Regions from separate parts of the Homo sapiens genome. Here all the other regions are linked to region 1. The links are contacts of gene promoters, found by promoter capture Hi-C in human tissues and cell types (Jung and others, 2019). All regions are on one chromosome and are shown on one strand. The core of a region is centred on a gene start or on the middle of the fragment in contact, and the rest is flanking DNA. Distances in the headings are between cores, read along the strand shown.

Region 1 (4,557 bases), core at 897-3,396:
TCTCGAACTGCTGACCTCGTGATCTGCCCGCCTCGGCCTCCCAAAGTGCTGGGATTGCAGGTGTAAGCCACTGTGCCTGGCCCAGTAGGCACTCTTTAAGAGCAGGTGTCACACAGTAGAAACTCTATGTAGACCATATGTAGACCATGAGTCACAGAGTGGGCACACTATGAAGAGCAGGTGGCAGCAGTAGGCACTCTTTATGTAGAGCAGGCAGCAGTGAGTAGGCACTCTTTATCAGGAGCAGATGATACTCAGTAAACACTCTTTATATAGAGCAGGTGGCATCTGTAGGCACTCTTTATCTAGAGCAAGTGGCATTCAATGGGCTCTCTCTCTTTTTTATTTTTTTGTGAGACAGAGTCTCACTCTGTTGCCCAGGCTGGAGTGCAGTGGTATGAACTCAGCTCACTGCAAACTCTGCCTCCCGGGTTCATGAGATTCTCCTGCCTCAGCCTCCCGAGTAGCTGGGATCATAGGTGCCCGCCACCACGCCCGGCTAATTTTTGTATTTTTAGTAGAGATGGGGTTTCACCATGTTGGCCAGGCTGGTCTTGAACTCCCGACCTCAGATGATCTGCCTGCCTTGGCCTCCCAAAGTGCTTGGATTACAGGCATGAGCTACTGTGCCTGGCCAGTAGGCACTCTTTATGTATTGCAGGTGGTACTGAGTAGGCACTTTTTATGTAGCGCAGGCAAGAGTAGGAACTCTTCATGTAGAGCAAGCAGCACTCAGTAGGCACCCTTTATGTACAGAAGGCAGCCCACAGTAGGTACACTTTATGGAGCACAGGCAACACTCGAGCAGGCAGCACTCAATAGACCCTCTTTATGTAGATCAGGAAACACTCAGTAGGAAGTCACCATATAGAGCAGGTGGTATCAGTAGGCACTGTTTATGTAGAGCACTTGGCACTCAGTAGGCATGTGTTATGTAGACAGCAACTGGTGCTCAGTGGGCACTCTTCATATACAGGGGGTGGCACTCAATAGGCACTCACTATGTAGAGCAGGTGGCACACAGTAGGCACTCTATGAGGAATATCAGGAACTGAGTATACAGGGTTAATGTAGAGCACCTGGCACACAGTAGGCACACTTTATGGAAAGCACTTGGCACAGAGTAGACAGGATTTAGCACCTGGCACACAGTAGCTGCCCTTCATTTAGAGTATTGGCACACAGTAGAAGTACTTTCCATGCAGCCTTTGTGCAGAGTAGAGACTGGCACACAGCAGCTCAAGTGCTAGTTGCCACCCTTTCCCTTCACTCCTTTTTGGGGCTCCCTCCTCTTAGGAGCCCTCATTGTCCCCCGCTAAGGCCCTCATCGAACATCCCATTTCCCAGATGGGAAGACTGCACCCAGGAGGGGCAGTACTGACCAAAGTCAGAGCAAGGATGAGGCAGAATGAGGACTCCATTCATGGTTCCCTGGCTCTGCCCTTCCCCTGCCTGGACCCCATCCGTTCCCTCTCATCCTAACCCTCCACGTCCCCGCTCTGTCCTCCTATACTGAGTCCGGCCTCCAGATTTGCTTTTCCAGCTGAGCTCTTAATCTCCAGAATCTGACCCAGGTAATCCTCAGTGGGGCTGGATTCTTTGTTCCCGTTCCTAGCAGTCAGGTCTCCAACAGGGCCCTGGACTGCCTGGAGGCAAGACTTGAACTCCATCCAGCAGCAGGGGGATAGAGGCTTGTCTCTTCCAGGTTGCCTGATTCAGCATCCAGAAGTGGTACACGGTGTCCTACCGGCCCAGGGTTAGAGAGGAGCACAGGAGATGATCTGGAACAAGGCTTGGCCTGGCCTGGCTCGCTTGACACCTGAACTCTCAAGTTCATGCTTTTATCTGCCACACACTCAGTAGGTGCTCTTTAAGAGCAGGTGTCACACAGTGGAAACTCTATCTGACCCCTCTCGGCTTACTCTCCACCTTATGTGGGAGGTGCTGAGACCTGAGGATCCAGTGCCTGTGCTGTGTCACCCTGAGCTGGTTCCTCTGCATCCAGCTGGTCTCCCACACCCAGGTTTTGGCCAGCTGCCCAGACATGGGAGCGGCACCCAGGCTGTGGGGATTGGCTGGCCCAGCCCAGCCCAGCCTAGCCTCCCACAGCCTTCCCTACATCAGGGGCCAGGGGAAAAAACCTCCCAGAAGAAGGGGAGAGGAGGTTGTGTGGGACAAGGTGCTCCTGACAGAAGGTGCCAGGGTGGGGGTGGTGGGCCTGGGGCATCCTAGCCTGTGATGGAGATGGGCACTGGGCAAGGGATTGGGCGCACACATAGGGGAGCCCCAGCCTTCCCACATTCTCCATTGCTGCCCAAGGCCCAGGCAGCTCCTGGTTGCTGGCTTGGAGGATGAGTGGTTTTCTAACTGAAACCAAGCCCCTGGCAACGTCCTAATGATTCAGGCTGGGCCTTTCTGGACTTTAATCAGTTTCTCTGTCTTTCTCAATCTAAGTGCTTACCGGGTAACTGGAGGCCACTTGGTTGCTGGTTTTGGCTGGGCCTTTCTGGACTTTACCCCTCAGCCCCTGTTTATCCATCCCTGTTTACTCTTACTGTTCTATCTCCAGCACTGCCCGTCTCTGCCTCTCTCCACTGTCCCTGGAGCTCCCTGGGCCCTTCCCTGGGCCTCAGGACCTCACTCACCACCCCATCTGCCCTGCAGGATGCCACAGCTGAGCCTGTCCTCGCTGGGCCTTTGGCCAATGGCAGCATCCCCGTGGCTGCTCCTGCTGCTGGTTGGGGCCTCCTGGCTCCTGGCCCGCATCCTGGCCTGGACCTATACCTTCTATGACAACTGCTGCCGCCTCCGGTGTTTCCCGCAACCCCCGAAACGGAATTGGTTCTTGGGTCACCTGGGCCTGGTGAGTGTGGCAGCAGGACGGGTCTGGGGTCTCAGGGTGGATGGACTTCCTGAGGGGTAAGAATGAGGCTCAGGTGAGAGGGGGTGGGCTGGGGTCTGGGGTGGCAGAGAAGCAGGGGAGGCGTCTTACTCATTCCTCTGCTTACTCATTTCTGTGAGGTGCCAACCCAAGCCCTTCTCACCTCCCTGTTCTCCCACTCTTGGCCTGTGTTGAATCCTTTTCCTGCCTGTCTTTCCACATTAATGCACCTCTGCGGGGCTCTTGGGCAGGGGGTTGGGTGCACAGAAAGGTGAACCCCTGGCGTTCCCACATTCTCCATTGCTGGACTCGAGGCCTCCTGTACCCACTGTTCAGGGTCCTCTCCCTACCTGGCCTATTTCCTCTTATGAGGGTATAGGTGGGCCAGAGGAGAGGTGTGGGCTGTCTCTCACCTCCACCACATCCGGAGGCACCTTCCTCTTATCTTGTTCCTCCCCAGTAAGATGTCCCAATGGGGTCCTGTTGCCAAACCCACATAAAAGTTGGCCACTCACTTCCCCTTTCAGAAGCCTTCCCTGACCTTTCTCCTCCCCCAGACCTTGCCCTCTGACTTAGACCTGCTCTCCCCTTTGCGGAACGTGGTCTCAATCTGCTCATTGCAAATGGCAGGATTGATGGGTGTGTCCACAGGTGAAGTGGGAGGGTGCACAGGATGCACTAGCACAGAGCCTGGTGCAGAAGCTTCTCCCAGGTGGGAGCCACTGTCATGATGGACAGTTAGAGTCACCTCTGCTCCCCTAGTGACTGCTGAGAAGGGAAGGTCCCCTGTGTGCAGAACCTTCTCCATGGGAGGAACTGGAACCTGTGTGGCTGGTGGAGGAACCAGCCAGGGCATGAAGGGATGTGGGGACCAGCCTTAGGGACATGTCCTGAGTCCACACTGCTCCCCACAAACCTCCCCTGTGAGGACCTCCTCATATGCCCACCTCTGGGCTGAAATGACTCCCAGAACAAGGAAATTTTTCCTCTCAAGCTAAGTGGGCCTCTGTGAGTGGACAGTGTGTCTTTTCCTTCTGCCTTGGGATGCGCTCTTGGGACTTGGGGGTGGCCCCAAGAGAGATAGAGCAGGAGGAATGTAGACAGATAGATAGGTAATAGGATAGATGGATGGATGGATGCACAGATAGGGTGAATAGATGGCTGGCTGGCTGGATAAGTAGGTGGGTAGATAGACAGATAGATAGATAGATAACAGGATAGATGGATGGATGGACAGATGGATGCATGGATAAGATGGATGGATGGATGGATGGATGGATGGATGGATGGATAATACATACATAAAGTAGTAGATAAGATGGATACATTAGGTGGATAGATAGGTAGAGTGGATATGTAGGATGGATAGATTAGATGGATGGATAGATAGCTAGATGATTGATAGATAATAGGATAAATGGATGAGTGGATGAATGTACAGATAAGATGGATGGATGGATGGATGGATGGGCAGATAGATATATAGATAGAAAAGTTAGATAGGATGAATAGATTAGATAGATAAATGAATAGATAGATAGGTAGGTAGATAGATAATAGGCTAGATGGATGAATGGATGCACAGATAGGATAGATGAATGGATAGATAGACAGATATATAAGATAGAATGGATGGATTAGATAGATGGATAGATACATAGAAACATAGGTAGATA
Region 2 (4,399 bases), core at 1,519-4,018, 450 kb after region 1:
GGTTGCAGTGAGCTATGATTACACCACTACACTCCAGCCTGGGCAACAGAGTGAGAACCTGTCTCAAGAAAAAAAATAAATAAATACACAACGTCTTGCTCTGTCACCCAGGCTGGAGAGCAGTGGTGCAATCACGACTCACCGCAGCCTTGAACTCCTGGGCTCAAGCGATCCTCCTACCTCAGCAACATTGCAAAACCCCCACCTCCACAAAAAATTTTTTTTTAGTTTAGCTGGGTGCAGTGGTGCACACCTATAGTCCCAGCTACTCAGGAGGCCGAGGCAACAGGATTGCTTGAGCCTGAGAGGACAAGGCTGCCGTGAGCTCTCAGGGCACCACTGCACTCCAACCTGGGCAACAGAGTGAGACACCATCTCTCAAAATAAAAGAAAAAGAAAGGGGGCACAGACTCTGGAGTCAGACTGCCAAGGGCTGAGCCTCAGCTCTACCACTTACCAGCTCTGTAACCTTAAGTTACTTACCCTCTCTCTATGCCTTAGTTTCTTCATTTGTAAAATGTGGATAATTTACCTGCTCCATAGGGCAGTTGTGAAAGTGAAGGCACTTAGAAAAGTGCCTGGTAGTAAAGATGAAGGGAGGCTGGGCGCGGTGGCTCACACCTGTAATCCCAGCACTCTGGGAGGTCAAGGCGGGCAGATCACTTGAGGTCAGGAGTTCCAGACCAGCCTGGCCAACATGGCGAAACCCCCTCTCTACTAAAAATATAAAAGTTAGCCGGTCACGGTGGTGCATGCCTATAGTCCCGGCTATGCTGGAGGCTGAGACAGGAGAATTGCTTGAACCCAGGAGATGGAGGCTGCAGTGAGCTGAGATCACACTACTGCACTCCAGCCTGGGTGACAGAGCGAGACTCCATCTCAAAAAAAAAAAAAAAAACCAAGATGAAGGAAATGTGTGCACAGAGTTCCATCTTTGCAGTGTGTTACAGTGCTCAGTAGATTCAGAGACTCATTTAGATGAGAGATGGGACTAGGGGTGGTGTCTCACGCAATTAGCCAGACATGGTGACGGGTGCCTGTAATTCCAGCTACTCAGGAGGCTGAGGCAGGAGAATCGCTTGAACCCGGGAGGTGGAGGTTGCAGTGAGCTGAGATCGTGCCACTGCACTCCAGCCTGGATGACAGAGCGAGACTCCATCTGAAAGAAAAGATAGATGAGAGGTGGGTGGAGGGGTGTGAGTGAACGGCCGTCCTGATGAGATTGCTCCTTGCAGAGGAATGAAGGTGATAGAAAACCGGGCCATGAAGGATGAGGAGAAGATGGAGATTCAGGAGATGCAGCTCAAAGAGGCCAAGCACATTGCGGAAGAGGCTGACCGCAAATACGAGGAGGTGAGTGGGGCTGGCAGATGGCGCAGCAGCAGGAAGTGGGAGGAAATGCATCTGCTGAGATAGGGAGGACACCGGGGCCAACGAAAGGAAGCTCTCGGTTAGGTCAGCTGTCCTCCTGCGTGAACATATGTTTGTCCAGAGACAACCACTTGGCTAGGAAACTATCTCCCACGATGCCAGAAAGTGCTGCGGACGCTTGTCTAACGTAATGGGAAAACCGAATGATCAGCTCACTTGTGTCGTTAGCTGGGAGTTTTGGCACAGTTGGGCAAAAATGGAGGATTGTGGTCCCAAGCCATGGAGTTTCAGACCATGCAAGCTCAGGCCCTCCTTTGCCTCCCTCGATGGCTCGGCTCTTCCCTCCCGCCTCTTGTCTGCCTCGCTCCTCAGGCTTGAGGAAGAGAATCAGGATTTCCTCCAGGCCCCAGGATGGCTCTTTCAGTTGAAGCGCCAGCAAAAGGCCAGGCGCGGTGGCTCGTACCTGTAACCCCAGCACTTCGACCGAGGCGGGAGGATCACCTGAGGCCAGGAGTTTGAGACCAGCCTGGGCAACATAGTGAGACCCCATTTCTAAAAATAATAATAATAATAATTAGCTGGGTGTGGTGGCATGCACCTGTAGTCCCAGCTACTTGGGAGGCTGAGGCAGGAGGATCGCTTGAACCTGGGAAGTCAAGGCTGCAGTGAGCTCTGACCACGCCACTGCACTCCAGCCTTGGAGACAGAGCAAGACCCTCTGTCAAAAACATAAAAGGGCTGGGCATGGTGGCTCACGCCGGTAATCCCAGCACTTTGGGAGGCCAAGGCAGGCAGATCACCTGAGGTCAGGAGTTCATGACCAGCCTGGCCAACGTGGTGAAACCCTGTCTCTACAAAAAATACAAAAATTAGCCGGGCATGGTCGTGCATGCCTGTAAGCCCAGCTATTTGGAAGGCTGAGACAGGAGATTCACTTGAACCCAGGAGGCAGAGGTTGCAGTGAGTCAAGGTTGAGCCACTGCATTTCAGCCTGGGTGATGGAGCGAGACTCTGTCTCAAAAGAATAAAAAAATAAAAAAGAGGCCAGGTGTGGTGGCTCATGCCTATAATCCCAGCACTCTGGGAGGCCGAGGTAGGTGGATCAGGAGGTCAGGAATTCGAGACCAGCCTGGCCACTACGGTGAAACCCCATCTCGACTGAAAATACAAAAATTAGCTGGGCGTGGTGGCACGCGCCTGTAGTCCCAGCTACTTGGAAGGCTGAGGCAGGAGAATCGCTTGAACCCAGGAGGTGGAGGTTGCAGTGAGCCGAGACTGTGCCACTGCACTCCAGCCTGGGCAACAGAGGGAGACTCCGTCCCCCTGCAAAAAAAAGAAACACCAGAAAAACCCATGTTGCAGCTGGTCTAGGGGTCTGGGTGGGGCATCATTGGGGGCTGTCTGCAGTGGATGGGAGAGGACACGGCTGGTGGGGATCGGGCTCAGCTGGGCCTTTCTGTCTCTGCAGGTAGCTCGTAAGCTGGTCATCCTGGAGGGTGAGCTGGAGAGGGCAGAGGAGCGTGCGGAGGTGTCTGAACTGTGAGTGGCAGAACAGGACTGAGCGAGGCTGGCTCGATTCCTGGGGCGGAGTGGGAAGGAGCTGGCTGTGTTGGGAATTGGCTCTGACCGGGGTCTCTGCTCAAGTGGACGGGCGTCAGGGGCTCATGGCTCATCTTTTCTCTTGGCTTCTGTGACAAAGAGGTGGTGACTTGTTCTTACTGCCATGGGAAGCACTGCCCACGTGTTGACCCTTTCTGCAAAGATATGAGGAAATAGGAGTGAGACAGGAGGCAGCAGGGAAGCCCAGAAGTCCCATTTTCCCAGAGAGGATATCTCAGGGGGCTGTGCCATCTTAACAGAACACTGACCTGCTCCAGAAGGCAGGCTCCCCCGGTCAGTATGTAAATGCTTTTGCTCCTGTCAGTGTTTGGCCGTGACACATTCCTGGCGGGAAGGTGAGAAGCTTAACCAGAATCCCACAAGCAAGCACCGAAAAACAAAACACCTGTCCTCTTGGCCCCGGGTGAGGAATTCAGCCCCACAGAGCATCCGGGAGTGCTGAGAGAGATCTGGTTTCACAAATCCACTCCGGGCTTCCTTCCCGGAGTGTCCCCTGCAAACTCCCATTGCTCTCTGCCCGCCTTCTGCCCTCAGTCCCATTCTTACACCTTCCGGAGTCGGCCTCATCAATCATAGATTTCACAAGTCCTTGCAGCCTTACCCTTGGCAAAAGACCAGGAGTGTTTTCCAAGCCCTCCAAATACTCTTCGGGCGCACCTCGCCTCTGCCTGGTATGATAAGCCTTTGATAAGCCCATAGTATCACACTGCAGAAAAATCCATTAACATTTTCTCCCCACATTCCTTCTGCCCCCCACCGGGGGAGCTGTGTAGGTTTCTCCTTTGGAAAATTTATTGTTGGGGCGATTGCTATTATTGCCGGCTGTAAGGGAAGATAAGACACAAAAATCCTTTGTCTTTGTGCAGAAAATGTGGTGACCTGGAAGAAGAACTCAAGAATGTTACTAACAATCTGAAATCTCTGGAGGCTGCATCTGAAAAGGTAGGTGGTTGGCTTGAGCTGGAGGGTGGCTTGCTGGACTTTGTTCTTTTCTTCTCCCGAGGGATGCAGGAGCCTGTCAGGTTATGGGGAATCTGCCCTTTATTTAACAGTAGCGTTGGTGCCTGGCAGCCAGGGTTTTTCCCCTACAGAAAGAGCTGGATTTCTCCTGCACACTCTTGAGTCCTCTTCCATGGGGTCTGAGCACCATCTTTGATCTCCATCTCAGGAGGATAGAGATAGAACATGAGGCTCTTCTTAGCGAGATCTGAGCATAGTTGTATAAATAAATACAGAGCCTGCCTCTCACCTGATTCCCCTGGTTCCTCCAGAAATACCATCTCAAAGGTATAGCAATGATCAGAGGTGGAATTGGGCTTTTTAGTTTGAAACAGCACCCAAAGCAGTTGCTACGTGGCAGCTACGTCGGGAACAAAGGACACACTTCCACGGCCGAACCCCACTGAAT
Region 3 (4,447 bases), core at 1,445-3,944, 400 kb after region 1:
ATCACAGGTTCAGGGGTGCCCCCAAAATGAGACACTTAGTGTTTGATGAATGAATGATGATGTTGAGGCCAGGAGTGAGAGGAAGGTCAGCAGGCAGACAGGGCCCATGTGGACAGAAAGGGTTTATTCCAAGTCCAGACATGACCAATAGCGATAAAAAGGGGGAACAATTGGAGTAATCCATGGGAGAAGGAGTGAGCCTGAATTTGAAAGATGGAGAGAACTGGACGTGGAGGAGGGGAGGGAGGAAGGCAGAACAAAGGAAATAAGAAGCTGTTGACCAAAATACATATGTTGTGATTCCATGCATATGATCAAAACGTGATCGTGTAATCATGCACATTTCTCAAATTCAAATGGACAAGGTATACATAATTTTTCCCATTCCTCCCACGAAGCACAACTAAAACCCTGGGCCAGACATCATACATAAAAACATAAGACTCTGAATAAGATTCAGCCTTTAAAAACAAAGCTTGTGTTTACGTGGATGAACCCGGAAGACGTTCAGTGAAATAAGCCAGGCACAGAAAAACAAATACTTCCTGTCTCACTTGTGGAATCTAAAAAGCTGAACTCCCAAGTAGAATGGTGGCTCCAGGGACTGAGGGAGGGAGGAGGGACTGAACAGATATTGGCCAAAGGGCACAAGAGGAATTGTTCAACATGGTGACTCTAGTCAATGTATTTTATTCTTGAAAAATGCTGAGTAGTCTGGGCGCAGTGGCTCACACCTGTAATCCTAGCACGCTGGGAGACTGAGGGGGATCACTTGAGGCCAGGTGTTTGAGACCAGCCTGGGCGACATAGTGAGACCTCATCTCTTTTTTTTTTTTTTTTTTTTTCAATATAAAAAAACTGAATTGCTGAGCAAATTTTAAGTGTTCTTACCACAGAAAAAGAGATAAGCATGGAGGTATGGTCACGGGTATGTCAAGGAAATGTTAAATTAGCTTGATTTAGATATTTTACGCTGTACGCCTATGTCAAAACATGTTCTATGCATCATATTTACAACTTTGTCAAAATAAAAAGTGATTGGGAAATTGGATCAAACTAGAAAAATGTAAGACTCTGAATGATGGAGGGAAGGCAGACACAGTGGGAATTTCAGGACCCAAGGAATGACACGAAAGTCAATTCTTTGGTGTTTTGTTTTGTTTTTCGCCACATACAGCCCAGGCTTGGACCTGAAGAAGCTGGCAACCCGCGAACGCCAACAGGCACAGTCGAAAAAAGCAAAAGAAAAATCCCAAACAAAATCCTGTTCTCCCTAGCCAAAGGACCAGGAGAGGGGGCAGCCCAGCAAGACAAAACACATTTACACAATTCTGGCTAACCTCAGCCAGTCCTTGGCCGTGAGTTCGTTTTTCTGCCACCTCACTTTGGGGCTGGGCTGGTTCTCCACCCTCGCAGGGTGCGTTTCTCAATCCAGACGCTGGGGGGCGCTAGTACCTCGCGAGCTCCGCGAGGATCATTCCCGGGACGCCGCGGAGTCACCTCCCCTCCTAGGGACCCAGAGCTTCCCAGGGCCGCGCCTGTAGGTTTTCCAGAGGTCCCCGAAAACGTTAAAGACCTGGAAGGAAAAAAAAACTGTAAAACCACACACTTTGATATTTGACAACGTAAAAGCAAGGCTGCAAAATCAAAATCAATGAACGCTTGAAGGAAATGTCTACTTAGCTAGACATAGTGCCACCTGGATTCACTGTTGGCTCCAGAATCCCCCCCACGGTGTCATCACGTTGGAAAGTTTTTGTGGGTTAGATGTTCTCTGTTGGCAAGAATGCCTGTACATGCCCAAGAAGCATATGAGTTTAATGGGACCCCAATAACTTCAAAAGCAAAAAGATAACGATCCTTTCTACTTTTTTAACTTTGTGTGTGTGTGTATCAGGGTCTTGCTCTGTTGCCCAGGCTGGAGTGCAGTGGCGCAATCACAGCTCACTGCAGCCTCAAATTCCTGGACTCAAACCGTCTTCCCACTTCAGCCTCCCAAGTAGCTGCGAGGATGCACACCACCACGCCCGACTAATTTTTTTTATTTTTTTAGAGTCAGGGTCTCACTATGTTGCCAGGGCTGGTCTCAAACTCCTGGGCTCAAGTGATCCTCCTGCCTCGGCCTCCCAAAGTGCTGGGATTATAAGTGTTAGCCACCGCACCCAGCTTCTTCTTGTTTTAACAGGAAGAAATACATTCAATGTGAGTGCCTTTTAATGTTTGATATTAAACAAGTCCTCCACGAGTGCAGGTACCCAGGGATGTGCCATACAGCCCTCTGCCTTCACCTATGCTGTTCCCTTTGGCCTCCATCACCCTTCCCTTCCCACATCAGCCAATTCACCTCCCATTCATCCTTCATATTTTAGCTCAGTGTTACCACTTCAGGAAAACCTTCCCTGGTCCCAAGGGACAAGATACTGTTTGTCTTCACCTGGAACATCCTAAGGGCTCAATAACGAATGAATGAATGAATGAATGAATGAATGAATGAATGAATGAATGAACACAGGTGCATAAGCATGATAGGCTTGTCCTTGTAGGGCCTTCCCATGCCACTCAAAATACATATGACCTCATTGCAAAAATATGAATACTGGCTCACAAAGTCATCCTGCAAAATCAGGCACATTCAACAACAGCCCTGTGCTGAGCCGTGTCGGGGCAGTAGAGAAAGCTCAACCCAAAACCCTACTCTTGAGAGGCTCCTCTCTGGGGGTTGGAGCACAGAGCCAGACACAGACATCACTGGCCTGTGTGTTCAATGAAGGAAGGGAGGGAGGGAAGGAGAGAGGCCGGGATGAATGGTTGGATGGGTGGATGGATGAAGGGATGGAAGGATGAATGAGTGGATGGATGGATGGATGGATGGATGGATGGATGGATGGATGAATGGAGGAATGGAGGGATGGATGGATGAATGGGTAGATGGATGAATGGATGCAGGGAGGGATGGAGGGATGGATGGGTGGATGGATGAAGGGATGGAGGGATGAATGGGTGGAGGATAGATGAATAAACGAATGGATGGAGGGATGAAGGGATGAATGGGTAGATGGATGAATGGAGGGAGGGAGGAAAGGAGGGGTGGATGGGTGGGTGGATGGATGGATGGATGGATGGATGAATGGGTGGAGGATGGATGAATAAACGAATGGATGGAGGGATGAAGGGATGAATGGGTAGATGGATGGGTGGATGGATGGAGGAATGGAGGGAGGGATGGATGAATGGGTAGATGGATGAATGGATGGAGGGAGGGATGGAGGGATGGATGGGTGGATGGATGAAGGGATGGAGGGATGAATGGGCAGAGGATGGATGAATAAATGAGTGGATGGAGGGATGGATGATGAATGGGTAGATGGATGAATGGATGAAGGGATGAAGGGAGGGATAAAGGGATGAATGACTGGGTGGATGGATGGATGAATGAAGGAATGGAGGGATGGGTAGATGGATAAAGGGATGAAAGGAGGGATGGAGAGATGAATGGGTGAATGGATGTTTAGGGATGGGCCAGAGCAAGGGCCCGGAAATGGGGAGTAGTGACAGGAATATGTCCCATAGAAGGTGCTTGGGCTTGGTATGGAAAGCAGGGTATGAGGAATCGTCTGTAGGAACAGGGACATTCCAAGCAGAGGAAACTGCAGAGGCAAAGGCCCTGCAGCTCAAGAAAACCTGGTTTCAGGATACAGTAGGGAGTGGGAAATGACTACAGAGGAGACTGGCAAGGACAAGTGGAGCCAGGTTGTGAGGGACCCATCCACGACCCTTAACCATGAATTTTGCCCCAAGGCATGCATCAAAGTACTGGCTATTCTTAGTATCAGTATTAAGATGGTATGACACACCCAAGAGTTTATTATATGCTAATAGCTTCCCCTGTTAATTTCAGTTTGGAAAACATGTTTTATAGTGTTCACACTACTCTGGTGGTGCAATATTTAGTTTTTAAATCAATATGCCTGTACAAAACTGTTACACAATGGCCCACAACTGTAACCCCAGTGCCTTGGGAGGCCAAGGCAGGAGGATCCATTGAGACCAGGAGTTTGAGACCAGCCTGAGTAACACACATAGTGAGACCCTATCTCTACAAAAAAAAGAAAAAAAAATTTTTAATGTTGGAACATGAAAAGATGTTCAACATGATTAGCCATCAGATAAATGCAAATCAAAACCAAAATGAGGCCAGGCATGTAATCCCAGCACTTTGGGAGGTGAAGGCAGGAGGATCACTTGAGGTCAGGAGTTTGAGACCAGCCTGACCAACATGGCAAAACCCTGTCTCTACTAAAAATACAAAAATTAGTGGGGAGTGGTGGCTGATGCCTGTAATCCCAGCTACCCAGGAGGCTGAGGCAGGAGAATCCCTTGAACCCAGGAGGCGGAGGTAGTGAGCTGAGATCACGCCACTGCACTCCAGCCTGGATGACAGAGTGAG
Region 4 (4,005 bases), core at 543-3,042, 420 kb after region 1:
ACAAGTAGTTGTCAAGAACTGTGAAGAGTCTGGGATCTTATCCTACTTGCAAGTGGACAATTGAACCTGCTACAGTTTTATGGATGTGGGCAGAAGACACGAGACTCCAGTATCAGAGACAAAGGACTTTATTACTCATGGCACAGCAGGCAGCATGAACTTTGTGTTTGCACTAGCCCACATTGGGTTAGTTCCACAGCCAAGGAACTCTGAGCTTAAAGATCTCGATTTTTATAGTTGATTGCAAACAAACCTGGTCTATTTTAATACCAGAGGGAGACATTATCTTTATTATATGGATAGCAAATGAAACTGCCCTCTGCTTCACAGGAAGAAACTCTGTCTTCCAAGGCTGTTTGCTATACAAACATCCTTGAAAAGATAGCTGGAATAAAAGCTGTCTGAGCCCCTGATTTTGGGGTGTACAGAAATGCAAGAGACCCGTGGAGAATTGTTCTCCAATGACACCATTGACACCTAATGGGCAGTGGCTGTCCATGAAGGTAACTCAGGTAGGAGGTTGAATAGGGGAGGCTGCTCAGGTTATAGTTTGTGGGTCAATGTGTAGAATCCGGAGTCAGCCACTCTTGGTTCAACTCCCAACACCACCACTTCTTAGCTGTGCTGGCTTGAGCAAGTTACTTCACCTCTCTGTGCCTCAATTTCTCCTTTTATAAAATGGAAATGACAGCAGCACTTATCTCACGAGGTTATTGTGAAAATTAAGTGAGCTGATGTGTGCAAGGCACGTAGAACAGCATGGACACATTAAAGACATGTCAGTGTTAACTATAATTATTATTAATTATCGTGACGATGCCACCAAGCTTGTGGTCATGCCTGTTTTACGGGATTAATGGCCAAGCTCTCTAACCCACACAGTTCCCTCGGAGTGTGGCTCAGAGACTTTGGGGAGGACTTAGAGCCCTTTTCTCCTTGCCCGCCCCACCAATGGTTTGCCCCTTCCCGGATAATTTTTTTTTTTTTTAAACAGGATCTTGCTCTGTAGCCCAGGCAGGAGTGCAGTGGTGCAATCTCAGCTCATTGCAACCTCTACCTCCCGGGTTCAAGCAATACTTGTCAGCTTCCCAAGTACCTGGGATTACAGGTGTGCATCACCTATGCCCGGCTAATTTTTTTGTATTTTTAGTAGGGACGGGATGTCACCATGTTGGCCAGGCTGGTCTCGAACTTCTAGCCTCAAGGGATCCAACCCCTTGGCCTCTCAAAGTACCAGGATTACAGGTGTGAGCCACTACACCTGGTCTAGAAACTCTTTTTTTATTAAGAGATAGAGTCTCACTCTGTTGCCCAGGCTGGAGTGCAGTGGTACCAGCATGGCTCACTGCAGACTCAAACTCCTGGGCTCAAGTGATCCTCCTGCCTCAGCCTCTGGAGTAGCTGGGACTACAGATGCATGCCACCACACCCAGCTAATTTTTAAATTTTTTGTAGAGATGGGGTATCGCTCTGTTGCTCAGGATGATCTTGAACTCCTGGGCTCAAGCAATTCTCCCACCTTTGCCTCCCAAAGTGCTGCGACTACAGGCGTGAGCCACTGCACCCAGCTTCAGGGTCATTTTTATTGTCATCCTTGTCATCTTATTACTCTATTGTACCCCATGAAATGAAACTCCATAGAGTGCAAGCTGAGAACATTTTTGCTCTTTTCTATTGGAACTCAGTAAACTCACCTGTTGCCTTGGTCTCTTTGCATGTCTCAAACTGCAGGAGACACATTTGGGGGCAGTCCCCATCCTCTCTTCTGTTGTTTGATCTCTGCAGCCTCACCACCCACCACACCACACCACACCACATCCTCACCTCTGCATTCAACGGCAGACACTCTCACCTGCCCTCAGTCCCTTCCTCCTATGACCTTCGCATAGACCCCATCACCACCGTTCAGGCCTCCCTCAATTGCCACTTCCTCAGGGAGGCTTTTTCCTGACTTCCACCCAAGACTAATCAGGTGCCTGCATTTTGCATGCATTAACATTTTTAGGCTGGGCGTGGTGACTCATGCCTGTAATCCCAGCACTCTGGGAGGCCGAGGTGGGCAGACCACCTGAGGTCAGGAGTTCGAGACCAGCCTGGCCAACATGGTGAAACCCTGTCTTTGCAAAAATACAAAAAGTAGCCAGGTGTGGTGGTGCATGCCTGTAATCCCAGCTACTTGGGAGGCTGAGGCACGAGAATTGCTTGAACCTGGGAGGCGGAGGTTGCAGTGAGCCGAGATCGTGCCACTGCACTCCAGCCTGGGAGTGCAGGACAGAGCAAGACTATCTCAAAAAAAAAAAAAAATTTAGCTCACACTCTGGGTGCCTGCCCAGATCCACTGGGTTCCTACTGTTTCTCTCCACACCAAGGGGTACTTCTAGCAGCTTCATCTCTCTGCTAGGGGGAGAGGCGGTCTTCCTCCAGCTGCTGAAGTGAGTGTGACCCATACAAGGGCAGATCAGCACAATCAACAGCCCCTAAGAGCAGCCTTCAATCAACAGCAGCATGGAATTGGTGGATAAATACCCCAGCTCCTTCGCCCCTCAGCTGGGACAACTCCAAAGAGCATGCTCTCTGCTGCCTCCAGAGGCCCTCAGTGGGACTGCACCCTATTTGTCCATGGCAGTAACTGGTTTCATAATGCATGCTTAATGGTTACTTTCTTTTCCCTATTTCACTTCCCATCCTCTACTTGTATCTCCTTGGGTCACTTCCCAAATAAACTATTTGTCCTTGCATTTTTTAAGAGATGGGGTATCTGATGCCCAGGCTGAAGTGCAGTGGTGCAATAATAGCTCACGGCAGGCCAGGCACAGGGGCTCATGCCTGTAATCCCAATAGTTTGGGAGGCCAAGGCAGGAAGATCACTTGAACCCAGGAGTTCAAGACCAGCCTGGGCAACATAGCAAGACGCCACCTCTACAAAAACAAAAAAGTATCCAGGCATAGTGGCACATGCCCGTAGTCCTAGCTACTCAGCGGGCTGAGGTGGGAGGATCAATTGAAGCTGGGGGATCTAGGCTGTAGTGAGCCACGATTGTGCCACTGCACTCCAGCCTGGGCAACAGAGTGAGACCTTGTCTCGAGAAAGAAAGAAAAGAAGGAAAGAAGGAAAGAAAGGAAAGAAGGAAAGAAGGAAAGAAGGAAAGAAAGAAAGAAAGAAGGAAGGAAGGAAGGAAGGAAGGAAGGAAGGAAAGAAAGAAAGAAAGAAAGAAAGAAAGAAAGAAAGAAAGAAAGAAAGAAAGAAAGAAAGAGAAAGAAAGAAAGAAAGAAAGAAAGAAAGAAAGAAAGAAAGAAAGAAAGAAAGAAGGAAGGAAGGAAAGGAAGAAAGGAAGAAAGAAAGAGAAAGAAAGAAAGAAAGAAAGAAAGAAAGAAAGAAAGAAAGAAAGAAAGAAAAGAAAAGAAAGAAAGAAAAAAAGAAGCTCACTGCAGCCTCAAACTCCAGGGCCCAAGTGATTCAACTACCTTATTCTCCTGAGTAGCTGGGACGACAGGCACAGACCACCATGCCCAGCTAGTTTTTGTATCTTTTGTAGAGATGGGGTCTTGCTATGCTGCCCAGGCTGGCCTCAAACTCCTGACCTCAAGTGATCCTTCCACCTCAGCCTCCCAAAGTGCTGGGATTACAGGCGTGAGCCATTTTGCCTGACCTCCTTGAACTTTTGTATCAAAAGACAGTCATTTGCCCTATTGTAATTCATTCCATAATTGCAGTTATTGGTTGTCTTGCCCCACTGGGATGAGTCATGTCCACCACAGTGTTCCAAAAACACGCACATGGTAGTAGATGCTTGATAAATGACTCTGGGTCTCATGACTGGGAGGTGGCTGGGATGCTGATGGGCTGTTCTCTTTCCCCCATCCTGTCCTTAGAAGCCCCCAGTTGGAGAGGTTGTAGTGCAGGAGGGAAGCTCACTCCTGAGCTATAAATGGCAGCCTCCACCTGCCTCATGCTCCAGAATACACAGCCTGAACAGCTGGGGCAGGGCCCCCAGCGTCCGGGAA
Region 5 (4,460 bases), core at 1,172-3,671, 370 kb after region 1:
ATCAACTTCTAAATTCAGTCTTTGTGACCTCATTATTTTTTATATTAGATCTCCTGAAGTCCATGAGAGACATATTTGACTAATTTAGTACAATAAAATCATACTACATGAAGTAGCGCTGTCAGTTTGGGAGTGAATGAAGGGGGACGGATGCAGAAATAAAGACAAAGACAAAAAGATCTGTTTTGAAAGAAGGATCAGGGGGCTCCTCGCTTCTAGTGAGCAAAGGCCCTGAGCTTCTACAGCCCTTCGTATTTAATAGATGGAAAGAGCAGGAAGGGAGAGGTAATGGTTGGTCAGCTGCTTGATTTATCACAGGGACACGTATATCTATAACAGCCACAGGTGCTTCTGTGACCCACATTTTCCCTGGCGGGTCCTCACACTGGCTCAATAAACTTGGATGATTTGAGACTTTGCCTTGGTCATTCACTTTTGTGGTCCATGGGGGCCTGGTCATCAAAAGCCCAGTCAATGGGACATAGTCATTGCGGGCCTTGTCTGTGGTGACCTGGTCAGCCAGAGTCTTGTCAGTGAGGGGGAAGCCCGGTCAGCAGGATCTAAGTCAGTGGGGTTTTGCTCGGTGAGGAATTGGTCACTGGGGTCTGCTCAGTATGGGCCTTATCTGTAAAAATCTAGTCAGTGGGCCAGGCACGGTGGCTCATGCCTGTAATTCCAACACTTTGGGAGGCCAAGGTGGATAGATCACCTGAGGTCAGGAGTTTGACACCAGTCTGGCCAACATGGTGAAACCCCACCTCTACTAAGAATGCAAAAATTAGCCAGTTATGGTGGAATATGCCTGTAATTCCAGCACTTTGGGAGGCCGAGGTGGGTAGATCACCTGAGGTCAGGAGTTTGACACCAGTCTGGCCAACATGGTGAAACCCCACCTCTACTAAGAATACAAAAAATAGCCAGGCGTGGTGGCATGTGCCTGTCGTCCCAGCTACTCGGGAGGCTGAGGCAGGAGAATCACTTGAACCTAATCAGGAAGTGGAGGTTGCAGTGAGCCAAGATCACACCACTGTACTCCAACATGGGTGACAGAGGCAGCCTCCATCTCAAAAACAAACAACAAAAAACCTAGTCAGTGGGGGTGTAGGGAGTGGTATTTTGTTCAGTAGGGGCCTGGTCACTGGGGGTCTGGTCAGCGGGATCTGAAAAGTAGAGCCTCGTTAGTAGGGGTTGGGCGGTTAGCACCTGGTCAGTGGAAACCTCGTCATTGTGGTCTAGTCAGCTGAGGCCTGGCGGTGTGGTCCTGCTCAGTCAGCGAAGGTCTCACCATTGGAAGCATGTCAGTGTGGCCTAGTCAGCAGATCCCGGTCCATGGGATTTGGTTATTTGGGACCTGGTCAATGGGGACGTGTTCTGTGGGGACCATGTCAGCAGAGACCTGGTTGTCAGGGGTGTGGTCAGCTAATGCGGTGCCACCGAAGGACTCCCCAGTGGGGCCTACTCAGTGGGGCCCTGGTCAGTGGAGGCCTGGTTGTAAGGGGCACTGTTGGCAGTGACCTTGTCATTGAGCTCCTGGCCAGTTGGGACCAGTCAGTGGTTTGGGTCAGTGGGGCCTGGTCTGTGGGGCCATGTCATGTGGTCTGGTCAGTGGGGCCCTGGCAGTGTGGGCCTGGTCATCAGAAGCCTAGTCAGTGGGGGGGCCTACTCACGGGGGTGTTGGTCAGTGAGGACATGGTCATTGTGGTCGGCTTAACGGGATCCATTCAATGAGGGTCAGGTCATGGAAAATCTGGTCAGTGGGGTTTGATCAGCAGGGGACTGCTCAGTGGGGATCGGACCAGTGGGGCCTGGTCAGCAGGCGGCCGGCAGTTCCTGGGGCCTGGTCAGTGGGGTCCAGCAGTTGGGACCTGGTTGATTGGAGGGTCCAGCCCTACGGGACTTAGCGGGTGTTCTCCCCGTGTGCAGAGACGAGAGAGCGTAAGAAATAAAGACACAAGACCAAGAGATAAAGAGAAAACAGCTGGGCCCGAGGGACCACTACCATCAAGACGCGGAGACCAGTAGTGGCCCTGAATGGCTGGGCACACTGATATTTATTGCATACAAGACAAGGGGCGTAGGGTCAGGAGGGTGAATCTTCTAAGTGATTGACAAGGTGAAGCAAGTCACGTGATCACAGCACAGGGGGCCCTTCCCTCTTAGGTAGCCGAAGCAGAGAGAGAGAAGGCAGCATACGTCAGCGTTTTCTTCTATGCACTTACAAGAAAGATCAAAGACTGTAAGACTTTCACTATTCCTTCTACCGCTATCTACTACAAATTTCAAAGAGGAACCAGGAGTACGGGAGGAACATGAAAGTGACCATTGGAGCACAGCACCACAAGGAGGGGTTTAGGCCTCCGGATGACTGCGGCAGGCCTAGATAATATCCAGCCTTCCACAAGAAGCTGGTGGAGCAGTGTTCCCTGACTCCTCCAAGGAAAGGAGACTCCCTTTCGCAGTCTGCTAAGTAACGGGCGCCTTCCCAGACACTGGCGTTACCGCTTGACCAAGGAGCCCTCAAGCTGCCCTTATGCACGCGTTGACAGAGGGCTCACCTCTTGCCTTCTAGGTCACTTCTAACAATGTCCCTTCAGCACCTGACCCTCTACCCGCCAGTTATTCCTAGGTTATGTTAGTAACGCAACAAAGAGTAATATTAAAAGCTAATGATTAATAATGTTTATAATAATGATTGATAATTGTCCATGATCATCTCTATATCTAATTTGTATTATGACTATTCTTATTCTAACTATTTTCTTTATTATACTGAAACAGTTTGTGTCTTCAGTCTCTCACCTCGGCACCTGGGTAATCCTCCGCCCACAGTCAATAGGGGTCTGCAGCTGGGGCAAGGTCAGCGGGGATCTGATCAGTGAGACCTAGTCAGGTCTCACTGACTGACTAGGCCCTGGGGGTTGGGGCCTGGCCAGCAAGAGTCCAGTAGTTGGGGCGTGTTTGGCGAGGGTCTCATGGTTGGGGTCTGGCCAGCGGGGGTCCCACAGTTGGGGCCTGGTGAGCAGAGATCTGGCAGTTGCAGCCTCGTCCATGGGGGTCTGGCAGTTGGGGCCTGGTCAGCGGGGTCTTATAGTTGGGGCCTGTTTGGAGGGGGTCCAGCAGTTGGGGCCTGGTCAGAGGGGATACGGCAGCTGGGGGTTATTTGGCAGGGATGCAGCAGCTGGGACCTGGTAGGTGGGGTCTGGCGGTTGGGGCCTGGTCAGTGAGGATCAGATCAGTGCGGTCTAGGCAGTGAGGTCTGGACGCTGGGCCTTCATCTGCATGGGTCTCGCAGTTGGGACCTGGTCAGCAGGGGTCTACCAGTTGGGGCCTGGTTGGCGGAATCAGGCAGTTGGGACCTGGTTGTCGGGGGTCCAACAGTTGGGGCCTGGTCAAAGGGGATCCAGCAGTTGGAACCTGGTCAGCAGGGCTCTGGCAGTTGGGGCCTGGTCATTGGGGTCTGGCAGTTGGGGCCTGGTCAACAGGGGTCCAGGAGCTGAGGCCTGGTTGGTGGGCCGTCTAGCAGTTGAGGCCTGGTCATCTGGGCCCGGCATTTGGGGCCTGATCGGCGGGGATCAGAGCAGTGAGGCCTAGTCAGTGAGGTGTGGATGTGGGGGCCTGGTAAGCAGGGGCCCAGCAGTTGGGGTCTGGTCAGCAGGGGTCTCATAAGAAGAGGCCTGGTTGGCAAGGGTCTGGCAGTTGGGGCTCAGTCAGGAGGGGTCTAGGAGTTGGGGCCCAGTCAGTGGGGTCTGGCAGTTTGGGCTTGATCAGTGCAGTCCAGCAGTTGTTGGGGCCTGGTCAGTGGGGGTCCAGTAGCTGGGACATGGTCAGTGGAGTCCAGCGTCCGGGGCCTGGTTGGCAGGGGTCTGACAGTTGGCGCCTGGTTGGTGGGGATCCCATAGTTGGGGCCTGTCAGCAGGGATCCAGCATTTGGGGCCCAGTCAGTGGGGTTCAGCTTTTGGGGCCTGGTGAGTGGGGTTCAGCATTTGGGGCCTGGCCAGCAGGGGTCCAGCAGTTGTTAGGGCCTGGTCAGCGGGGGTCTGATTAGTGAGATCTATTTGGTGGGGTCCATCAGTTGGGACCTAGTCAGTGAGGGCCGTGAGGGCCTTGTCAGTTGCAGCCTTGTTATTGTGGCCTTTGTCAGTGGTGTCTGATGAGCCAGGGCCTGGTCTGTGGGGCCCAGTCAGCAGGACCTGGTCAGTCCACATCTGGTCAGTGGGACCTGGTCATTGTGGGGGTGGTCAGCTAGGACCTGTTCAGTGGGAGCTTAACCATTGGAAGCCTGGCCAGTGGGATCCTGGGTGATCTCAGGCCACGGGTTAGTCCTCGAAGCCTCCGTGATTGCCTCCATCCATGGGGTGGGGGGTGAGTCACAGCACCCCAGTGGGCTTCTGGGAGGAGGAGGTGAGAGGGTGCATTGCATTGAATCCAGCCCTGCCACACAGACCTGGCACTTTACACAC
Region 6 (4,124 bases), core at 763-3,262, 480 kb after region 1:
TAATTTTAAAAAACATTGAAAATCCAGCTCCTTGGGTCAAAGCAGCTATGTTTCTGATGCCCTAGAGCCTTGTGTAGCCAGTATCAGTCATATGGGACAGCACCACCATTGCAGCTGTGTCCTCATCTCTGTCAGCATGCTCATAGACCCTTGGGCCTCAAAATCCCAAGTTTGGGAAGCATTGGATGCCTAGAGACCCATGGTGAGGTTTGCCCAGACGGGGCCCTGGAAAATAGTCACTTGGAGCCCTGAGGGGTGTTTCCAGGAAAACCTGGAATAGGATGGCTGGCTCAGTGTTTTCCAGGTGCTTCTGCTTGATTCTAAGAGAGAGCTCTACCCACTGCCCCACTAACGTCCAGGTTCTCCCCTCAGCTCCCTGAAATAGGTATAATCCAGGAATTTGAGTCTTAGGCACATGTCACCAACTTAGTGGTGAAGGCAGGAATCCTGGGCTTTCAGAGGGTCCAGTCCCCGGATAAAGGGCCCCACGCCCCCTGTCCCTGACCATGTCACAGTCACAGGGTGTGCCCACCGTGGATGGGGCATGGCAGACATCATGGGCCACTGCAGCCTTGAGGTTCTTCGCCATGGTTGCGGCTGACTGTGAGGCCATTATTCATGTCCCTGAATTCCCAGGAGGATTTGGGGTTGCAGTGACTTTCTTGCCCCATCTGTGTCGTTTTTGTCCCACACTCTTGCACCCACATCTGTCTCACCATTACCACATGGCCCGTGTCCTTATTCTGCAAACTTGGATGGCCCCAGACAACTTGGCCAGCAGCAGAAGTCATCAGTGCCCTCAGGTGCCACAGATGCAGGGCTGGGCCTGGGGAGCAGGTAGCGAGGAGGAAGGAAGAAATCCAGGCCTGGCCATGAGCAGGCCACGTGCCTTGGAGCCCAGGATGCCCGGCAACAAAGGGGGACTTGTGATGGCACTGCAGGCTGGCCCGCTGTGGGCACTCCACAAGGACATCGAGAACCACACAGACCGTCAGAGGGTGGCCCCCACATGTGGGTTCTGGGGCTGAAAAAGGCCCAGGGATATTGCTGAGAGGATAGGTGTCATCAGTGCTTTTGGAGTTAGCCCCCCCCCGCCCCCCGTGCTTGAATCTTAAAGGTCACGTCTCTGTGCCTCAGTTTCCCCTTGCATCGCATGGGCATGTTTGCGCTTGTCCACAGCAGTAGCGAGGCTGTGGACCCAGGCTGAGGCGGGGCTGCCCCGAAGCTCTTCCAGGACCCACGAGCCGTCTCCCAGTTGCTCACGTCTAGGTTAGGGAACTGGAAGGGCCTTGGCACTCTCGGCTCCATCTTCACACAGCCGGTTCCCTCTGTGGTGGGGTCACTGGAAGTTGTGTGGATGTCGGGTCAGGACTTCCTGGGCTCAGTTGTGCCTGGTAGGTGGCTCAGGCAGAGCGTGGGGTGAGCAAGGGGTGAAGAGGAGGCCGATTGCAGGGGAGGGTCAGCGTGAGGGGAGTGCTGCTGGCAGTGGGCCTGTGGACCGGCTCCCACCGTCAGGCTGCACCACCCCGTGGGCCATGAGGGGAGCCAGCCGGGCTTGTCAGCGAGTGCGTGGCAGGGGCTGGCCTGTGAGGCAGAAGGGTCACCTCAGCGGCCCGGGGGGCAGGACAAGGCTGGTGCCAGAACCCAGCAGAAAGAAGGGCCACAGGGATGGAGAGGAGGGGGCTGGCTTCCGGGGCTCCACAGAGGTGGGGAGGGCGGCAGCTAATGGGCCTGGCTGTGCAGTGGGTGCTGGGCTCCCCACCACTGTTCTCTGGTGCCGCTGAGGCCTCCCTTCCAGAGCCTGCAGCCGATCAGGCACCTGTGTCTTCTCTCCCCGCGCAGGGCATCATGCTGGTCTACGACATCACCAACGAGAAGTCCTTCGACAACATCCGGAACTGGATTCGCAACATTGAGGAGGTGAGGCCCTCCGGCTCCTCCCACTGTCCCTGCTTCAGTCCTTGTCCCAGAGCCCTCTGGTTTACTCATGAGAAGGCCAAGGTGCAGAGACACATACAGGCCACTTGCCCACAGCCTCCTAGTCAGGGACATGGTGGGAGCAGGGACTGAGATGCAAGCAGCCGGCCCCAGGGACCACACACTGGCCTGGCCCCACCCCGGAGCCCCTCGGAGCCCATCCCTCCAGCTAGGCTGTTGGATCTGGCCAGTGTCATGGTTATAAGAGAAAGGATATCCAAGCTTGTGGTCACCATGAGTGTTGGGTGCTTTCTAGAGAAGGAAGGGTCTAGCACAGGTGTGACCCTTGTAGTTGGAGGGTGTGGTGAGCAGGCGTCAGTTGTACTTTGAGCTATATCGGAGCAGGGTGTGACCTGGTACAAACGACCTGTGTTCAGACCTTGAACCATAGAGCAGTGAGAAGTAGGCCAACCCCTCCTCCCCTCCCAAAGCCAGCATCTTCATCTTCTGCTCCCCAAAGAGCTGACCTCACCCCCAAAGCCTTCCTGGCTGCCGGCACCTGCAGCTTTCTATAACTAACCATGTGGGGCTTCAGGTCTGAGGCACAGCCAGAGAACTTTTCCCATCTATAAAACCACAGCAAAAGGGCATATCACTGTCCACCCAGGACTCATGGACCTCCCAGGCCAGGCCGAGAGGCCACCCCATCATTTGTGAGTCATTGCACTGGGCTCACCTCCCCAGTGACCCTGAGAGGGCTGTGCTGCCAAATTTGCCAGTGCAGGGCTGCACCCCAGCTGGGAAAGCTGTCTTCATCCGTGGAGAGGAGGAGAGCCTGGTCTTTGTGAAAGGTCTCTGTTTCTGGCCAGCGGGCAGGAGCCACCTTCTGGTTCATGGGAAGTGAGGCAGGGAGTGGCGCAGTAGGTTCCAGAGACCAAGTCTGAGCTGGTGGAAGAAGACAGCAGTTTCCAGTGTCCCCGTCCTCCAGGAAGCGTGGTCCGCTCCATGGGGACCCAGGGAGACTTGACGAAGGAGCTGCCTTTGGGTATGAGGGCAGAGTTTGGGCAACATCAGACAGGGTGGTGAAGTGCCTGCAGCTGGTGACGGCCTCGAGTTGCGACCACCTCAGGCACGGCCTGTTTCTGGAGCCCAAAAATAGTTGAAATGTCAGGGCCAGGCGAGGTGGCTTATGCCTGTAATCCCAGCAGTTTGGGAGGCTGAGGCGGGCAGATCACCTGAGGTCAGAAGTTTGAGACCAGCCTAGCCAACATGGCGAAACTCTGTCTCTACTAAAAATACAAAAAATTAGCCTGGTATGGTGGCAGATGCCTGTAATCTCAGCTATTCGGGAGGTTGAGGATCGCTTGAACCTGAAGGCAGAGGTTGCAGTGAGCCGAGATCATGCCACTACACTCCAGCCTGGGAGACAGAACGAGACTCCATCTCAAAAAAAAACAAAAAAAAAAGTGTCAAAGCAGAAGGTCCCAGGACAACAGCTGGGGCCTCTTGCAGAGGAGCCAGGGAGGGAAGGAGGAAAGCCAAGGTCGGGGGGTAAATATCTCAGCCTCACTCACCTCCCATAGGCTAGACCCGCCCAGCATCCCAGGTGCGGGGGCTTGATTGATACAGCCATAGAAGCTGCCAGAAAGCATTTCAGAAAATGTGCATTTGCTCAGAGTAGCAGCTAGAACCCTGGCCCCAGCCCTGGCATTGGCTGTGTGACATGGGGCCGGCTGCTTGGCCTCTCTGAGCTTCAGCTTGTCCCTTAGACCAGGCTGTACCTAGCAGTCCTGACCCCACCGCTCTGATTTCTGGGGACAGACTGTGTGTTGGCAGAGGCACCTGGCCTGTGTCATCCGGTCTGATCCCCCGTCTGTCCCCCTCCCTCTCAGCACGCCTCTGCAGACGTCGAAAAGATGATACTCGGGAACAAGTGTGATGTGAATGACAAGAGACAAGTTTCCAAGGAACGGGGAGAAAAGGTGGGCATGGTGGCACAAGGGGCAGAGGGCCTCGGGGTCTTGGGGTTCTTGTGCAGAGGCCTTCCCCTGTCCCTCCTCTGCCCCAGGGGCCTGAGACGAGTTGGTCACCCCAGTGGGGCACGTGCCATGGGATGACAGAAGCACACACCCAGCCGGGGCTTCTTGGGTGCACTCTGCGGGCATCTCATCAAAACCTACCATGGCCCCGCTCCAGACTTTCAAGAC

Evidence for each region. The method cuts DNA at HindIII sites, captures the fragments that hold promoters and counts their contacts. A contact is called where the count stands out against the background at its distance.
Region 2: a fragment that was not itself captured here is called in contact with the fragment with the promoter of CYP4F3 in region 1 in 2 of the 25 tissues and cell types used here (dorsolateral prefrontal cortex and spleen).
Region 3: a contact is called between a fragment that was not itself captured here and the fragment with the promoter of CYP4F3 in region 1, in 2 of the 25 tissues and cell types used here (dorsolateral prefrontal cortex and mesendoderm cells).
Region 4: a contact is called between a fragment that was not itself captured here and the fragment with the promoter of CYP4F3 in region 1, in 2 of the 25 tissues and cell types used here (lymphoblastoid cells and spleen).
Region 5: a fragment that was not itself captured here is called in contact with the fragment with the promoter of CYP4F3 in region 1 in 1 of the 25 tissues and cell types used here (lymphoblastoid cells).
Region 6: a contact is called between a fragment that was not itself captured here and the fragment with the promoter of CYP4F3 in region 1, in 2 of the 25 tissues and cell types used here (dorsolateral prefrontal cortex and spleen).

The regions. Positions count from the first base shown.
Region 1 is chr19:15,638,751-15,643,307 of GRCh38, forward strand. It overlaps CYP4F3 (cytochrome P450 family 4 subfamily F member 3), which reads left to right and starts at 2,147. Exons shown (of 13, transcript NM_000896.3): 1 at 2,147-2,195; 2 at 2,665-2,863. The coding sequence starts at 2,666. The HindIII fragment of the contact is 9,363 bases long and covers 1-4,557 here.
Region 2 is chr19:16,085,188-16,089,586 of GRCh38, forward strand. TPM4 (tropomyosin 4) reads left to right here. Exons shown (of 8, transcript NM_003290.3): 3 at 1,236-1,353; 4 at 2,840-2,910; 5 at 3,858-3,933. Among named protein-coding and RNA genes, the nearest start is that of TPM4, 11 kb to the left of the region's middle. RefSeq lists an enhancer at 1,301-1,350. The HindIII fragment of the contact is 7,259 bases long and covers 1-4,399 here.
Region 3 is chr19:16,040,262-16,044,708 of GRCh38, forward strand. It overlaps LINC00905 (long intergenic non-protein coding RNA 905), which reads left to right. Exons shown (of 5, transcript NR_024335.2): 5 at 1,178-1,874. Among named protein-coding and RNA genes, the nearest start is that of LINC00905, 8.8 kb to the left of the region's middle. The HindIII fragment of the contact is 8,864 bases long and covers 1-4,447 here.
Region 4 is chr19:16,060,320-16,064,324 of GRCh38, forward strand. No RefSeq gene overlaps it. Among named protein-coding and RNA genes, the nearest start is that of LINC01855, 3.4 kb to the right of the region's middle. The HindIII fragment of the contact is 9,039 bases long and covers 1-4,005 here.
Region 5 is chr19:16,012,172-16,016,631 of GRCh38, forward strand. LINC00661 (long intergenic non-protein coding RNA 661) reads left to right here and starts at 3,463. Exons shown (of 9, transcript NR_026828.1): 1 at 3,463-3,618. LOC105372291 (a long non-coding RNA gene) reads right to left here and starts at 2,885. Exons shown (of 2, transcript XR_936355.1): 1 at 2,800-2,885; 2 at 1,965-2,214. The HindIII fragment of the contact is 6,740 bases long and covers 1-4,460 here.
Region 6 is chr19:16,123,628-16,127,751 of GRCh38, forward strand. It overlaps RAB8A (RAB8A, member RAS oncogene family), which reads left to right. Exons shown (of 8, transcript NM_005370.5): 4 at 1,843-1,920; 5 at 3,810-3,899. It overlaps HSH2D-AS1 (HSH2D and RAB8A antisense RNA 1), which reads right to left. Exons shown (of 2, transcript NR_199156.1): 2 at 1-3,360. Among named protein-coding and RNA genes, the nearest start is that of RAB8A, 14 kb to the left of the region's middle. The HindIII fragment of the contact is 7,709 bases long and covers 1-4,124 here.